2 separate regions of the Homo sapiens genome follow, and region 2 is linked to region 1. Evidence: promoter capture Hi-C in human tissues and cell types (Jung and others, 2019). All regions are on one chromosome and are shown on one strand. The core of a region is centred on a gene start or on the middle of the fragment in contact, and the rest is flanking DNA. Distances in the headings are between cores, read along the strand shown. Region 1 holds the start of SLC25A37 (solute carrier family 25 member 37). Region 2 overlaps CHMP7 (charged multivesicular body protein 7).

What was found. The method cuts DNA at HindIII sites, captures the fragments that hold promoters and counts their contacts. A contact is called where the count stands out against the background at its distance.
Region 2: a fragment that was not itself captured here is called in contact with the fragment with the promoter of SLC25A37 in region 1 in 1 of the 25 tissues and cell types used here (aorta).

What each region holds. Positions count from the first base shown.
Region 1 is chr8:23,527,521-23,530,359 of GRCh38, reverse strand. SLC25A37 (solute carrier family 25 member 37) reads right to left here and starts at 1,404. Exons shown (of 4, transcript NM_016612.4): 1 at 1,148-1,404. The coding sequence starts at 1,357. RefSeq lists enhancers at 301-370, 1,661-1,710 and silencers at 871-1,120, 1,171-1,530. The HindIII fragment of the contact is 14,130 bases long and covers 1-2,839 here.
Region 2 is chr8:23,251,521-23,254,359 of GRCh38, reverse strand. The region is part of intron 3 of CHMP7 (charged multivesicular body protein 7); the gene reads right to left. Among named protein-coding and RNA genes, the nearest start is that of CHMP7, 9.3 kb to the right of the region's middle. The HindIII fragment of the contact is 4,740 bases long and covers 1-2,839 here.

The DNA of each region.
Region 1 (2,839 bases), core at 155-2,654:
GCTGCTGGGGGTGCCTCTGTGGGACCTGCCTTGCAAAATAATTGCCACCTAGAGAGGCCTCCGAATCCTCCAAAGCACACTGCAGCTGCAGCCAGAGGATAGGAGGTGGTGTAGGAGCCTGGGCAAGGTAATCGGTTCGCCTCTCTGCGCCTCAGTTTCTTCATCTGTTAACCCCCAGGGCTGTTGCATGAATTAGGCGAGTTATGCCTATAAAAGTGCAACGTGTAACAGTCAATACTGGCATTACTTCCTGCACTACTCTATCCTGGCCCTGGGGTGTTCTGGGCAGGCTGACAGAGGGCAGGTCTCAGTCTACCAGGCAAAACGCACCTAGTAACGCTGCCTCTTTACAGAAATGCAGTTAAAACTACCGGGGCAAGTGACAGACAGGGTTTAAAGGAAACTGAGTGCCTCTCACACAATCCACAGCAAGGGCTGTAAGGCACAAGCCCACCCACCTCCCCGCAAGCAAAAGGAGAAGGCAAACGTCATTGCCTCCCGGCGGCTCGGCGACCCAAAGTCGGGGGAAGAAGTGCAGGAACCCTCAGAAAGGGGATCCCACGGGCCGCTGTCGAACCGGTAAAGAGCTGCCACTAGTCGAGAGAAGACTTGCCGGCCCCAAGTTCCCGAAATAACCCGGGGAGCAGCAGCCACACACCAAGTCCCGAGGGCGCGCGGCCGGGCCAGGGCCACACGTTTCTCAGCTCCAGCGTGGTGAGGGCTTCCCCTGCGGGGAGCTCCCTCGGAAACCGCGCACGTGTGGGCGGCCCCAGCCAGCCCGAACGGCCAGCGTGGTAAGACTGTGCAGAGCTTCAGCGATCGCGTCCCCCGGGAGCCCAGTCGCCGCCGAAGCCAGCGGTGCTCGCCACTCCGCCTCCCCCGCCTCAGCGCCGCCAGCAGCCGGGGCCGGGCACGCGGCTGGAGCAGCGGGCGGTGCGGGGCGAGGACCGGGCACCCTCGCGGGGTCGGCGGAAGGCGCGGCGCCCAGGCTGCGCGCAGCTGCTCCTGGGGCGACCCCGGCCAGCCGCGGTCCTGGGGAGAGCTCGGTTTCGGGACGCTGCCCCGAGGCTGCCGGCGCGCGGGATGCAAATGCGCGCGCGCGCTCCTTCTCCGCTCGTTGCGTCCCCGAAGTCTCCCCGCGCCTCACCTTCACCGAGTCCACCGGGTACATGACCGAGTGCTCCAGGATCCCGGCCATCGCTCCTGCTGTCATGTGGGTGGACACGGAGGCGCTAGTCGGCAGGTTCTCGTAGTCCTCCGACCCGGTGGCGTCCTTGCCGCCGCCGCCATCTCGGCTGTCCCCATCCATCCTCCGCGCCACCGCCTGGCTGCCCACGCTCCCGCTGCGCAGCTCCATCCGCCAGCTCGGCGGGGCGCAGGAGGCTGCAGGAGGTGGGCAGGGAGGGGGAGGGGCGCAAAACTTCACTTCTTAAAGTGGGAGCCACCTCCCCGGGGCCGCGGCGCCTGACGCCATGGCGGGCTGGGGTGGAGCGCAGCGGCCAGAGACACCAATCGCCGGGAACCAAGAGGCCGGCGGCCGCCGCGCCATTGGTGTGCGGGACAGTGGGGACCCGCCTCCCTGTGTGACGTCACCGTCCCGTGCACATTTCCAAGCAACCGGACGGGGGCGAGAGGAGACGTGGGGTGGCCCGGAAAGTTGTACTATCTTGAGGATGGGCTGGTCCGCGAGGGGCAGGGGAGGTCATTGGGGAGGGGCCGCAGTGGGGTATGCCCAGAGCTGGAGGCATGGGTGACAGTGTCTCGGGGAAAATCCGTCCCCGTGGCGGGTGGGTTTGCAAACAGAATCGCTCAGTGAGCTTTGGCATTCCTAAGGCCTGAATTCAAACCTCAGGGGCCCGTTCTAGACTGCTTTGTTGGAGAGACCCCCATTCATTCGAAATTGTTTCTCTCAACCTAAATACATAATGCAGAGCTAAATGTGTTCCTCTTGTTCTCACCGAGAGACCGAACCCACCCTGCCCTGGACCGAGCAAGGCTATAAGGAGTGACCAGGAGGGAGCCCCTCTGAGTAGGCACCTCCAGGAAATTTTCTTTGGGTTTGATAGGCCCATAAGGTCTGTAGAGGCCTGATCTCACAGTTAGGAGTGTGAACTGGCTGAGAGTAAAATCTTACAGCCTTGCCCCTGCCTGTCTTAAGACTGTGGTCACCTAGTTCTTAAAGTCGTCCTAAGCTGGCCTCTTCAATAAAGTGTAACCCAGGCTGTTTTAATATTGTTTTGCTCCAGTCTGGGGAAAAAGGGAGAAATCAGAAAGTAGGGGAGGGACCTGTCTGCCTCTGGAAGTGTCCGTCTAAATTGCGTGTTCCAGGGCTTAAGATGACTTGGGCTGATCAACTTGTAGGCACCAGGGCCTCCCTGCCTTATCTAGACAAGGCTTCTCGTCAGGAAAGCTGGATCCTGAGATATGAAAGGGTGGGGAAGACCCTGAAGAGGCTGAGCCTACTCTCTGCCCTCACCGTGATCAGCATCCCAAGCAGCTCTTAGGGATTTGAGATACAGTAATGTGAGCATGGGTAGAGGTCAATAGAGGCGTCAGGACCAAGAGCACTGTTTGCCTAGTTTTGGTAGCTGCAGATAGTAGCTGGCAAGCTGAGTGCTAAGGATGTGATAAGTAAAAACAGGCTCTGTGTTTTTACTTAGCCATCTCTGTAATGGCTAGAGAAAACTCTACTTTTGTCAAAGGTCGTTTTTAAGAAATACTGATCAGAAGCTGTTGATCCTTATTTTTAAGTGGATGCCCTTTAAGCATTAAGTCTGTAAGAACCCACTGCCCCACTTCTGGGAATGTAACAAAAACCCAAATACACAGGAAGCTCTTC
Region 2 (2,839 bases), core at 213-2,712, 280 kb after region 1:
GGATAAGATTAGTGACAAGAGTAAGAAATATAAGTTCCAAGAAATAATGTCACCATTTCGCTCATACATGGAAATTACTACCAGAAACAAGAAAGACTGAGGTGTCCATGGGATGCTATGAAAATATAGGGAAGGACTGCCTGGGGATTCAGGATTTCTTGAAAAAAAAAAAAAGTTGAGCAGAATTCTGAAGAGTGAGCAAGTTCCTAGGTGAAGAGGTGAAACGGGTATCTCGGGAAGAGAGAGGAACATGAGCATAGAAGGGTGGGTCAATGCGGCACGTGTACAAATGTAGAGGGGAAAGGAGAGAGAGGAGAAGCACTCCTATATTATAGAAAGTGTAATATCCTATATTATAGAAAGTGTAATATCTTATGATGATCCTTTATTCTGTAGATGGTGGGTGGTCACTGAAGGAAACTGACATGGCTAGATTAACAGAAAGCTAACTGCCAATTGGGAGACGATGGATTGTAGAGTTAAGATTAGAGGCAAGGAGACCATTTACACAAGAGATTATGTGGGTCTGAACAACAGGCTATTTGAATAATAAACATAGAAAGAGGAGTGGTGGAGACAAACAAAATTCAGAAGATAACACTGGTAACTGGATATAGGGTTGGAAGAAAAAGTCTAGTGGAAAGTCACTATGGATTGAGTGACTGGTGGATGTGATGCTATTAATAGGAAAAAATTCAGGAGGAAAAGCCTAGTTTAAAGTAAAGACAAAATATCCCATCTTGGTTATGATGTTTTAAGATGTCTGAGAGAAGCCAGGCACGGTGTGCCTCACGCCTCTAATCCCAGCACTTTATGAGGCCGAGGTGGGTGGATCACCTGAGATCAGGAGTTTGAGACCAGCCTGGCCAACAGGGTGAAACCCCATCTCCACTAAAAAAAATACAAAAAATTAGCTGGCCATGGTGGCAGCGCCTGTGATCCCAGCTACTTGAGAGGCTGAGGCAGGAGAATTGCTTGAACCCAGGAGGCGGAGGTTGCACTGAGCCAACATTGTGCCACTGCACTACAGCCTGGGCAACAGAGTGAGACTCTGTCTATAAATAAATACATAAATAAGATGTCTGAGCTATATCCAAGATTATGTATACAACCTATCAGTGGATATACAAATCTGAAACTCAAAGGAGACAGCAGGACAGCGATACAATGTTGAAAGTCCTCAGCATATCCACAGCAAAGATCCCAAGGACATTCAGGGAGGAAAGTAATAAGCTGAAGGAAGACCACTGTTTAGGAAGTGAAGGAAGCCACAAAAGAGAGACAGAAGGACTGCTTTGGGGGAATCAAGGAGAACTTGCAGCGTCATGTAAACAAATTCAAGGAAATTGGACATTTCAAGAAGTGACTCGTCAACAGTGCCAAAGGGTAGAAAAGAGCCTAATAAGACACAGACATCGAGTTTTCATTGATTTGACTGCCCTACCAGATATGCAACCACTGCAGTAACTGCACAGTAACCACACACAAATAAATTAATGTTACACGACATCAAGAAAAGATACTGAGACAACTGGCTATCCATTTGGAAGAAAATAGAGCTTTCCCCACCACATACACAAAAATAAGTATTGAAGGAAATGTAAACGGAAAAAATTAAAGTACAAAGTAATAAGTTAAGCTTGAGTCAGAAGATGCCTTCCTAAACAAGACCTGAAATTCAATAGCCATACAGAAAAGTCTGAGAGATCTGACTACAGAAATATGAAACCTTCTATAGGGTAAAAGACATCATAAATAAAAAGTAAGCAAGCAACAGACTGAGAAACAATATTTACATCCTTAATACTAAATACATTATATATATCTATCTCTAACACATAAAGAATACAGATTAACATAAAAGATAACACAATAAGGCCAGGCGCGGTGGCTCACACCTGTAATCCCAGCACTTTGGGAGGCCAAGGCGGGTGGATCACGAGGTCAGGAGATCGAGACCATCCTGGCTAACATGGTGAAACCCAATCTCTACTAAAAATACAAAAAATTAGCCGGGCGTGGTGGCGGCACCTGTAGTCCCAACTGCTCGGAAGGCTGAAGCAGGAGAATGGCGTGAACCCGAAAGGCGGAGCTTGCAGTGAGCGGAGATCGTGCCACTGCACTCCAGCCTGGGTGACAAACTCCATCTCAAAAAAAAAAAAAAGATAACACAATACAAAACAGGAAAGGATATAAACAGACAATTCACAGAAGGAGATATGTAAATGGCTAGTACATAGGTGAAAAAAATGCTCAATTCACAAACAGGACGTATCATTTTTTTTTTCCCAATAAGTTGGTAAGATTTAAAAGACTGATGTCATCCCGTGCTGACAAGGATGTGGGGAGACTGGACTCCCTAATACAGTCTTGATGAAAGTGCAACTTATTACAAACTTTTGAAAAGTAGTTTGGCAATTTTTGTTAAAATTGAAAAGGCACATATGCATTTCCGAAAAATCAATTCCATAAAAATAAAGGGAGAAGTACATAGATCTCTGCACAAGTGGCATTTTTTTGTAATGGAAAAATGGAGAGAGAAATTGGAATGATTGAAATGTCCATCTGCGGAGCACCTGTTGCATAAATTGTGGCATATCGATAGATTATCATGCAGGCATCAAAAAGAATCGAGTAAATCCATACTGTGTAGGGCCTGGAAAGAGGCACCTGATACAATGCAATGGAAAGAAAACAAAGCAGGGTGCACACCAATTCCATTTCTAGAAAAAAATGGAGTGATGTGTACACGTGTCTGTGCGTGTGTATTCACTCACTCAACAGGTATTTATTGACTGTCTACCAGGTATCAGGCACTGCTCCCAGGGTCCCAGGGCCC